Linked DNA regions of Homo sapiens: all the other regions are linked to region 1. Evidence: promoter capture Hi-C in 16 types of primary human blood cells and fetal thymus (Javierre and others, 2016). All regions are on one chromosome and are shown on one strand. The core of a region is centred on a gene start or on the middle of the fragment in contact, and the rest is flanking DNA. Distances in the headings are between cores, read along the strand shown.

Evidence for each region. Contacts are between HindIII fragments. The CHiCAGO score rates a contact against its expected background, and 5 or more counts as called.
Region 2: a contact is called between the fragment with the promoter of LGALS16 here and the fragment with the promoter of PAK4 in region 1, in 11 of 17 cell types (naive B cells, total B cells, activated CD4 T cells and 8 more). The highest score is 12.5, in naive B cells.
Region 3: a contact is called between a fragment that was not itself captured here and the fragment with the promoter of PAK4 in region 1, in 2 of 17 cell types (naive B cells and total B cells). The highest score is 12.4, in naive B cells.

What each region holds. Positions count from the first base shown.
Region 1 is chr19:39,124,330-39,127,791 of GRCh38, reverse strand. PAK4 (p21 (RAC1) activated kinase 4) reads right to left here and starts at 2,006. Exons shown (of 10, transcript NM_005884.5): 1 at 1,873-2,006. The HindIII fragment of the contact is 5,933 bases long and covers 912-3,462 here.
Region 2 is chr19:39,653,860-39,657,699 of GRCh38, reverse strand. LGALS16 (galectin 16) reads right to left here and starts at 1,787. Exons shown (of 4, transcript NM_001190441.3): 1 at 1,724-1,787. The coding sequence starts at 1,738. The HindIII fragment of the contact is 3,782 bases long and covers 1-1,873 here.
Region 3 is chr19:39,677,784-39,681,301 of GRCh38, reverse strand. It overlaps the pseudogene LGALS17A. Among named protein-coding and RNA genes, the nearest start is that of LGALS16, 24 kb to the right of the region's middle. RefSeq lists an enhancer at 3,079-3,373. The HindIII fragment of the contact is 6,903 bases long and covers 1-3,518 here.

The DNA of each region.
Region 1 (3,462 bases), core at 757-3,256:
CCAGGGTAGGGGCACTCTCCCGGCTCTCTGAAGATGCCCTCGCAAGCCACATCACCGTTTGCAGAGACGCAGTCTTGTGTCACTGGCTTGGGGGCTGGTTCCACTCTGCTCCCACCAGGGAACTGAGTGCCCTCTGAGGCTAGGGGCTCTGTGGATCTCGTCCCCTGCCACACTCCCAGCACCCGGCACAGTGCCCAACAGTCAACCCCCAGCAATGTCACATCCTCTGCAGGCCAGGCAGGGCTTCAGTGGGGACCGAGGCAAGGAACCCCACAGAGCAATTCCACCATGCACCCTAATAATTAAGGTAAGGAGGGAGGTAAGGGCTGGTCAGATGAGAGAAAAAGAGCCTGCAGCAAGGCGAGCCAGGGTGGTCCCGGGCCAGCTGAGAGTGAGCGACCCGTCAGTGAGAGAGGGCAGGGTGGGGAAAGGATTCCCAGCAGAAGGAACAGGAAGGTCAAAGACCGGGCGGGAGGCATGGGCCTGGAGTTGGAGAACAGTAAAGGGGCTGGGGAGAAATGGGCAGAGCCATAAGAAGTGAGGTGGGAGTGACTAAGGACCACAGTGAGAGCTTAGGGTTTTAAGAACAGTGAACACCCCGCTCTGCCCAGGGTACCACCCAGGGACACTCTCCCCAGTCAGAAGCCCGTCGGACTCCCTTGCTCGGACTCCAGACCACCTACAAACACCCTACTCCCATAGGCTCACAGGAATCTTCCCTGCCAGATCACACCCTTCCAAGGAAACCAAGCAGACAATCCGATCCGCCCAGGGAGTGGCCCAGCCCTGCCCAGCCCCCTGCTTCCAGGAGAGACCTAATGGCTGGCAGCGGACAATGTGGCGACCAGGGGCAGGAGCCCTGGAATCACCCAGGCCCAGCTTCGATTCTAACTCTGCCTTCAGCAGAAGCTTCTGAGCCTCATTTTTCCCGTCTGTAAAGTAGGTTCATCTTGAGCACTCACTTCACAAGATTGCAGCAGGAGTGAAATACGACCGGGCACACAGGGCGTGGAGCACAGTGTGAGCCCTCATTAAACATTAACCGACATTATGATGATTTGAGAGGCGGTCGGCCAGAGCAGGGCTCTGGGCCAGAACTCCGGAGTTAGAATCCCAGCGCACAACTTATGCATCGGGTGACCTTGTGCAAATCACTTAACCTCTTAATACCAGGTTAAGACCCCCTAAGACTATAGTGAGGACTGAATAAGCTCATACAAGTAAAGCGTTAAAAAGAGGGTCTAGCCCATAGTGTTTCATGAGTGTTTGCCATTATTATTTGTGGGAGGGTTCCCCCTTCTCCTGTCACCAGGAAGCATCTCTGACCCGGCCCCCCCCCCCCCCCCCGTCCCCCGCAATACGCCCTCCTTGGGTTTTAATTTTTGACTCTGGGAAACAGCTGCCCCGCTGTCAGATTCTCACCTTTGTACCTTCTAGGCACGCCCCAGCTTTGAACCCCTAAAAGACGCCCCCGAACCTAAAACTCATTCATCTGCTCCGCTAGGGGCAGCTTTAAACCTCCAACCTGGCGCCCCTGGGGCTGTGACCTCTGACCCTCGTGGGGGCAGCCTTCCCTCAAATTATTAACTTTGACCCTGCCTTTTTTGAGACTCGCCCAGAACCCCTCGAACGCGCCCCCACTTCGAATTTCAAACTTTGCACTCCCCTTCGCCACGCCCCCTTCGCTGGTTTGATCTCCGACCTCCACTACAACTCCCTCCAGTCTGCGTTAACCCCCGACCCCTCGGACGCGACCCTTCCCTCCACCAGTGACCTTTGACCCCGGCGGCCCCGCCCCCCTCCTCGCGGAAACGCCGTCCCGCCGCCAGCGCCCGGCCCACCGCAAGCCCCTGGCCGGACCCCTTATCCTACCGGCTCGGCGCCGCAGTCGCTCGCGGCCTAACTGCTCGACCTGGAACTCCGCGCCCTCGCGCCTCCCTCAGCTCTCTTGCACCGCCACCACCGCGGACACTCCCGCCGCCATGTTGAATCCCCAACGAACATCCGGGGCTTTCCCCCCTCACCGCCCACCAGTCCCCATAGCAACGAGGCTGACCGGGCAGTGGGCAGGGCCAGTGCGGGGGCGGAGTCGGGCGCCTCTCAGGGCCCGCTCCAGCCTCCGATTGGTACAGAGCGTCCAATCGGAGACCTTCGGGCAGAAAATGCCAAGCGGGGATTGGAAATTTTGGAAAAGGTGCGGGAAGGCTGGCTCCCGGCCCACTGAGGTCCTTAAAGGGGAAATGACTGTTTTCGTGTGATACCGATTTTCTAACTTCCCCCCCAGAAGGAGTTAGGGGCTGGGAGAAAGTAATGAGTTAATGGGCAGAAACAGTTCTTAAGCACTTACTAGGAGGCAGGCACCGGGATAAGTGTTTTACTTGCATTTTCTCGCTGCATATACAACCCTGTGGTATAATATCATTAATACCCATTTTACAGATAAAGAAACAGAGGTTCAGAGGGTGAAATAGCTGGCTTAGCATCATAGAAAGAAGGTAATGAGTTTTGAACGCTGGTCTGTCTGAGCCCGGGAACCTGAGACTGTTTGCTCTTCAATTTTTAAATAAGTTTTTACGAAGTAATTGGTCAAAATATTGAAAACAAACAGCAGACATCTTCTTTAAAAATTTTTTTAAATTTTATTTTTACTTATTTATTTGTCTTGAGATAGAGTTTCGCTCTTGTTGCCCAGGCTGGAGTGCAATGGCGCGATCTCAGCTCACTGCAACCTCCGCCTCCCGGGTTCAAGAGATTCTCCTGCCTCAGCCTCCTGAGTAGCTGGAATTACAGGCGTCCACCACCACACCCAGCTAATTTTTTGTATTTTTAGTAGAGACAGCGTTTCACCATGTTGGCCAGGTCGAACTCCTGACCTCAGGTGATCTATCCGCCTCGGCCTCCCAGAGTGCTGGGATTACACGTGTGAGCCACCAAGCTGGCCTTTTTCTTTTATTTTTAAAGAGAGAGTTTTGTTGTGTTGGCCAGGCTGGTCTCGAACTCCTGGGCTCAAACTATACTCCTGCCTCGGCCTCCCAAAGTGCTGGGATTGCAGGCGTGAGCCACTGCGCCCGGCCAGACATCTCTCCTCCTGGATCTTATTCACTGGACTCCAGCCTTCATGCTGTTCCTGAACTCTTGTCAGGTGCGCTCTCACCTCACAGTCTTTGCACTGGTTGTTCCTCTGCCTGGAACATACTCTTCCCCCAGGTATCCTTATCTCTCCCTCCCTTTTTTCAGGGCTTTACACAGATGTCACTTTCTCTGTGAACTAATTCCCTCGCTCACCCTAAGGAAAGCAGCAAACATCCCTCTCACATACTACCAAACTCTGTCTGCTTTGTTCTTATTTCTCACTCCTAATTGTAGTTATTGCTTGTTGGTTGTCTCCTCTGCTGGAATGTCAGCCCCATGACAACATGGATTTCTGTCTTTGTTCACTGCTGCATTCCCAGTGCCCCAGCA
Region 2 (3,840 bases), core at 538-3,037, 530 kb before region 1:
AGGGTTCAGGAGCCAAGAAGCCTGGATTCCAGTCCTCATTCTGCCTCTTACTAGCAGTGCAATCTTAGATCGGTTACTTGACTTCCTCAGTTTCCCTAAAACAAGGAGGATTATCATGAATTCCTACTGTGTAGGAAGTTCTCCATAATAGAGCAGTTAATACATGTAAAACTTTTACCCTAATCCCTGGCATGTGTAGGGCCTGTTAGGGGTGACCTAACAGAACAGGGGAGTCCTCCTGAAACACTGATCTGCCTTATTTTCAACTCTCACAATCATCAAGGGCAATGGACGTCCTTCCAAGAAGTGGCACACATTACTGACAGCACAGCCCCAGTACTTGCACAAGTGAAGCCTGTGGGTCAGGGACATAACTGGAGGGAATGATTGATTTCTACAATGACTACAAGTGGTTGATGATTTTTCTGTATTTTTGAGATAGGGTCTTGCTCTGTTGCCCAGGCTGACATGCAGTGGTGCGATCATAGCTCATTGAAACGTTGAACTCCTGGGCTGCAGTGATCCTCACACATCTGCCCCCTCTTGTGTAGCTGGGGCAAAAGGTGCCTGCCACTCTGGCAGTCTGATATTTAAAGTTTTTTAAAGAAAGGGTCTCACTATGATACCCAGACTGGCCTCAAACTTCTGGCCTCAAGTTATCCTCTCATCTTTGTCTCTCAGATTGGTGGGATTATAGCCGTGAGCCAGTGAACCCAGCTGCTTTGTTGATTAATATCCACTGTAAGCTCTGTCTGAACTGAGACTAGACTTGTTCCTTCATGGGTGGAGGAACAAGTTTAGACTCAGTTGAGACATAGCTTACAGTGGATATTTTACGTGATTCAGTCTCTGAAACCATGGCCTCTAATATCCTTCTCTAGCAAACCTCCTGTCCCACAATGAAAAGGACAGGATAGGCTGGGGACAGGGAAGCTGAGCCTGGGAGGCAAGAGACAGTGGTCACTCTGTGCAGACCCCACCTGAGGATCCATCACCCCCATAGTCTCCATTCCTCTTCCCCACTCTTACTGGGAAGAGACATCTACTGATCATACATTCTGCTCTCATAAGTGATCTGAAACAAGTCCTTGGTAACTCACAATCTCCAAGATCCCTACCAGTTAAGCCACCTGGGATCCACATTGCCACACATGAAAAGACACACAGTTCCTTCATCAGAAGTGCTGTTGTGTGGGGAGGAACCTTCACATGCACAGAAGGCCACATGCGTGTTTTCCCTTCAATACTCAGTCACATCCCAGCACACACACCCACAGTCACACAGAGCCATGCCACTCACTGAGTTACACACACCTGCTCACTGCGCACATAAAGATGACCATGCACTGGTCTGGCTGTGCTAACACACACTCACATCACAAAGAGGAAGACAAAGTACAATCACCCCCCTTACACTCACACAAACACCTGCTTGACCTGGTGTGCCATCCACCTCCCACCTAAAGTCACATCATCTCATCAGAGTTCACTCTCATCAGATACCACCTCATGCTCACAGAGGGTTACATTTGTCCAGGATCCACAACCCACATGCTACAAGCATCTCAGATACCCAGCCTCAGTGTTTCTCTTCCACACACCCACAACTCTCAGTAAAGCATTCACAGTAGGAATGCTCATATTTTCATCTCATAAAATACCCCACATCTTTCTTGGTTTTGTGTGACTTGAGATTATTGAAGGCTGTGCCTTTTCAACTCACAGTTAGAAATGACATTGTCCTCTCCTTCTGGGCGACCTTCGGAATTGTGTCCAGTCTTCTGAGTGAATCTCTGAGTTGCAGCACTTAAATGACCCCTTTCAGCTTTGCCCTCTGGCATCATTCCAGATTCCATGCTCCTCCCAGCAAGCTTTCCTTGCAGCATGAGAAAGGGTCAGGTGTCACGAAGAAACTCAGTCACAACCATAACTATTTGCAAGTCTGTGTCTGTAATGCAGCAGAAATGACATTGGGGAAGGTACCAGACTGTGGATTGGGTTACCAGGGAAATGCATAGATAAGGATGATGGAGTGAGGGGTAGTGATTGTAAAGCCCAGCCTTTGTGCCTCTCAAGCCTTTTCTCCACTATGCAGAATCTACCCAGAAGGTGTACATTTTCCCAATTTTGTACAATGGCTAAACAAGAAAAAAAAAGTTGGAGATTTTGGGGGAAACAAGTTAGCCCTAAAAGGTAATTCTTCTCTCTGCCTTTAAATGTTCTGGGAGAGCACTGACCTTGATCCTGAGGAGGATCTGCAGAGAGAAGTAGAGAAATTTCTTGCATGAACCTGCCCCACACTAAGCCACTTGGCTTTGCTAGGTAAGGGCCACTTTCATCTGACTGTCACACACTTGGGCTCTAGCTACACCCTCTGTTGGTGTCCATGTAAATCAAAGTTTGAGGGAGACTGTTTCTTCTGCAGATTCTGGGAGAAAGGTGAGATTTAAAAAAAATTATTATTATACTTTAAGTTCCAGGGTACATGTGCACAATGTGCAGGTTTGTTACACAGGTATACATGTGCCATGTTTGTTTGCTGCACCCATTAACTCGTCATTTACATTATTTATCCTGATGCTATCCATCCCCCTGCCCCCCACCCCATGATAGTCCCCCATGTGTGATGTTCCCTGCCATGTGTCCAAGTGCTCTCATTGTACAATTCCCACCTATGAGTGAGAACATGCGGTATTTGGTTTTCTGTGCTAGTGATAGTTTGTTCAGAATGATGGTTTCCAGCTTCATCCATCTCCCTGCAAAGGACATGAACTCATCCTTTTTTATGGCTGCATAGAATTCCATGGTGTATATGTGCCACATTTTCTTAATTCAGTCTATCATTGAAGGATTTGGTTTGGTTCCAAGTCTTTGCTATTGTGAACAGTGCTGCAATAAACATACGTGTGCATGTGTCTTTATAGTAGCATGATTTATAATCCTTTGGGTATATACCCAGTAATGGGATGCTGGGTCAAATGATATTTCTAGTTCTAGATCCTGGAGGAATGGCCACACTGTCTTCCATAATGGTTGAGCTCGTTTACACTCCCACCAACAGTGTAAAAGCGTTCCTATTTCTCCATATCCTCCCCAGCATCTGTTGTTTCCTGACTTTTTAATGATCGCCATTCTAACTGGTGTGAGATGGTATCTCAATGTAGTTTTGATTTGCATTTCTCTAATGACCAGTGATGATAAGCATTTTTTCCTGTGTTTGTTGGCTGCATAAATGTCTTCTTTTGAGAAGTGTCTGTTCATATCCTTTGCCCACTTTTTGATGGGGTTGTTTGTTTTTTTCTTGTAAATTTGTTTAAGTTCTTTGTAGATTCTGGATATTAGCCCTTTGTCAAATGGGTAGATTGCAAAAATTTTCTCCCATACTGTAGGTTGCCTATTCACTCTGACGGTAGTTTCTTTTGCTGTGCAGAAGCTCTTTAGTTTAATTAGATCCATTTGTCAATTTTGGCTTTTGTTGCCATTGCTTTTGGTGTTTTAGTCATGAAGTCCTTGCCTATGCCTACATCCTAAATGATATTGCCTAGGTTTTCTTCTAGGGTTTTCATGGTTTTAGGTCTAACATTTAAGTCTTTAATCCATCTTGAATTAATTTTTGTATAAGGTGTAAGGAAGGGGTCCAATTTCAGCTTTCTACATATGGCTAGCCAGTTTTCCCAGCACCATTTATTAAATAGGGAATCCTTTCCTCATTTCTTGTTTTTGTCAGGTTTATCAAAGATCAGATGGTTATAGATGTGTGGTGTTATTTCTGAGGGCTCCATTCTGTTCCATTGGTCTATATATCTGTTTTGGTACCAGTATCATGCTGTTTTGGTTACT
Region 3 (3,518 bases), core at 605-3,104, 550 kb before region 1:
TCAGGGCGGCATATTCCTGAAGAAATTAGTGACCCATACATGAGAGCAATGGTTCAGGATCCATGCTGCCTTGGTTCCAGTCCTCATTCTGCCTCTTACTAGCAGTGCAATCTTAGATCCATTACTTGAACGCTCCCTGCCTCAGTTTCCCCAGGACAAGGAGGATAAGCAGAAATTTCTGCTTTGTAGGGTTTTTCCAGTAATATATGAATTAATATATGTGAAAGTTTTGCCCTAATCTCTGCCATGCATGAAGCCTGTTGGGGGTTACCCATTAGAACAGGGAGGTTGCTTCTGGAACACCGACCTGTGATTATTTTCAACACTGAAGCTGTGAAAACAAGATGTGAGGATGTAAGAGTAGAGAGATTCACTCCAGTGAGAAACAACACTTGTTGAAAGAGAGAGAGAAATGCTAAAAGAACTGGAAACCCCCGTGTGCATCACAATCATCAAGGGCCATGGACGTCCTTTCCAGAAGGGGACACCTTGCTGGCAGCACAGCCCCAGTACCTGCACACATGAAGAGTGTGGGCCAGGGAAGTCATTGGAGGTAATCTAAATATTGTTTGATTTTCATTTCTCTGTTTGGTGTTGGGGTTTGGGGTCTTTTTGATACAGGATCTTACTCTGTTGCCCAGCCTGGATTGCAGTGGCATGGTCACAGCTCACTGTGGCCTCAAACTCCTGGACTCAAGTGATCCGCCTGCCAAAACCTCCTGAGTAGTTGTGAATGAAGGTGCACACCAACATGCTTGGATAATCTTTAAATTCTGGGTACAGACAGGGTCTCACTACGTTGCCCAGGCTGGTCTGAAACTCCTCACCTTAAGCGATCCTTCCACCTTGGCCTCCCAAACCACTGGGATCACAGGCATGAGCCACAAACCCTGGCAAGTTATTGATTAATATGCACTGTAAGCTCTGTATGAACTAAGAATAAACTGATTCCTTCTCTATTTTGGGCGACTCAGTCTCCGAACCCACATCCCCCAAAGGCCTTCCCTAGTGAGCCAGGATCTGCTCACCCTCTTCTCCCACAATGGGATGGACAGGCTGGGAGACAGAGAGACCTGAGGCTGGAGGCAGGAGCAGATGGCCTTTCTGGACAGACCCCACCTGAGGAACCATCGGCCCCATAGTCTGTGTTCCTTTTCCCCACTCTGCTTGGGAGGAGGCACCTGAGGATTCACGCATTCTGCTCAGAGATGACTCCTCCATAACTCATGGCTCACAACAGGCGCACCAGTTCTGCCACCCACACTGTTCACACATGGGACACACACTGACACATGGGAAGTGCCCAGCTGCTTCATCAGAGGCGCTGCTGTGTTGGGAGGAAACTTTACATGCACAGAAGGCCCCTTGCATGCTCCCAGTTCAACACCCAGTCACATCCCAGCACACACTCACCCATAGTCTCACAGAGCCATGCCACTCACTGAGTCTCACACACCTGCTCACTGTGCATATAAAGATGCTCACACACTGGTCCAGCTGTGCTCACACACACACTCACATCACAGTCAAGAAGACAAAACGCAGTTACACCCTTACACTCAGGCACACACCCGCCCACCCTGGTGGGCTGTTCACCTCCCACCTAAAGTCACATCATCTCAGCAGAGGTTACTCTCATCAGACACCACCATGCACTCACAGACGGTTACACTGGTTCAGAGTCCACACCCCACACTCCACCAGCATCTCAGATATCATAGCCGCACGGTTTCTCTTTCACACACCCACAACTCTCAGTAAAGTGTTCACAAGAGAAACTCTCATACTTTCGTCTTGTGAAATCACCCCTGATTCTTTCTTGGTTTATGTGAATTGAGTTTATTAAAGGCTGTGTCTTTTGACTTACTTTTAGTGATGACATTGTTGTCTCCCTCTGTGTAGTTCTTCAGAATAGTATCTGGTCTTCTGTGTGAGTCTCTGATTTGCAGCACTTAAATAGTCCCTCTTGGCCCTGCCCTCTGGCTTTATTTCTTTCTCTGAACCCCTGCCAGGAAGATTTCTCAGCAGCGTGAGTAGGGGTGGCAGAAATAGACTCAGTTTCAGTTTTCAGGCCTGTGACTGTGCTGCAGCAGAAACGACACGGAGGGTCACACCAAGGGGCAGGGAATCGCCAGGGAAGGCACAGATGAGGATGATGGAGTGAGGGTGGGAAGTTGTGCACTTCAGCCTCCATGCTTCTCATGAAGCCATGTCATTGTGTGCCCTGGTCAAAGGGTTTGCCTTGCATCCATCTCTGACCAAGATTGACACTCTGCAAAGTACTGACTGCCTTGTCCACTATTTGAGCCCACAGCTCCTCCTCTATGACATGACTTTTCCCATTCTAAGTCAGAAAGGAGGATGGTAGAAGGGCATGGTCATCTATGAGCACTCTTTAAATCAACAAATTAGCCTTTGCTAAGTCTGGGTCTCAACATTTCCAGAAATGGGATGGTTCATCCCCCATTCCTGAACTGAGGGCAGAGAGCATATGAATTTCCCTCTTCTTTTTCCTGGTCGAGCGGAGGCACCTGTGCACTTTGGAGTCCAAATAGGGGAAGGGAGCCCCCATGAGGTCCCTACTCTGTTTCAGTGTAGAGAGCGCAGTTCCCACTCAGCCCTGCTCAGCTCAGACACAGCCCCTTCCACGCTGCTACTCACTCAGTTATTCACGCCCGAAATCCCGTCTCAGTCCAGAAATCTCTATGCTGTCCACTATCCTCCTCTTTTCCTCACACACTTTCTCACACCTATAGAAAGTTCTCCTAGTCTCTATAGGTTTCTACTTTCCTAAAGCAACCAGGGACACAGAGATTCTTATTTCCTGCCAGTTCACCTAGGGCAGGCAAGACACTCTGTATCTACTCTCAGTGTCTTCATAGCTGTTTCCTCAAGCAGCAAATATTGTTCCTGTGATTTGTGTCTGAAATACTAACTAGAGAGTATGCATCAGACTCAAGCAGTGAATTACAAAATCAGTTTCCTCTCCACGTGGGATTTCCTGGAAATCTATTGATGTCTTCATAAGTAGAAGTGAAAGGGGAATCAAATCCTGTTTTTAAGTCGGTTCCAAGTTCAGCTGGAATTATGTGAAAGTGAAAGCACTGGAAGCACCTGGCACTGCCCAGTTGGCCCCACATCCATCCTCTGCTTATTTGCTCAGTGTCAGGTTGCAGAAGTGGAATGGACACACTCAGCAAATGGCAGAATCCCACATTGGTTGTCTGACCTGTGCAGGGAGGAATGTGATAGTAGGAAAGGGCAATGGAAGCCATTAGAGCTGCTTCCACCTACAAAAATAGGAAAGCAAAAGCAACACCGCATTCTTGGAGGGCCTGCACAGAGTAGTACAGTCATGAGGGACTTTAAGATACAAGGGTGGCGTTTTTTAGATGGAGTCTTGCTCTGTTGCCCAGGCTGGAGTGCAGTGGTGTGATCTCGGCTCACTGCAAGCTCTGCCTCCTGGGTTCACGCCATTCTCCTGCCTCAGCCTCCCGAGTAGCTGGGACTACAGGCAC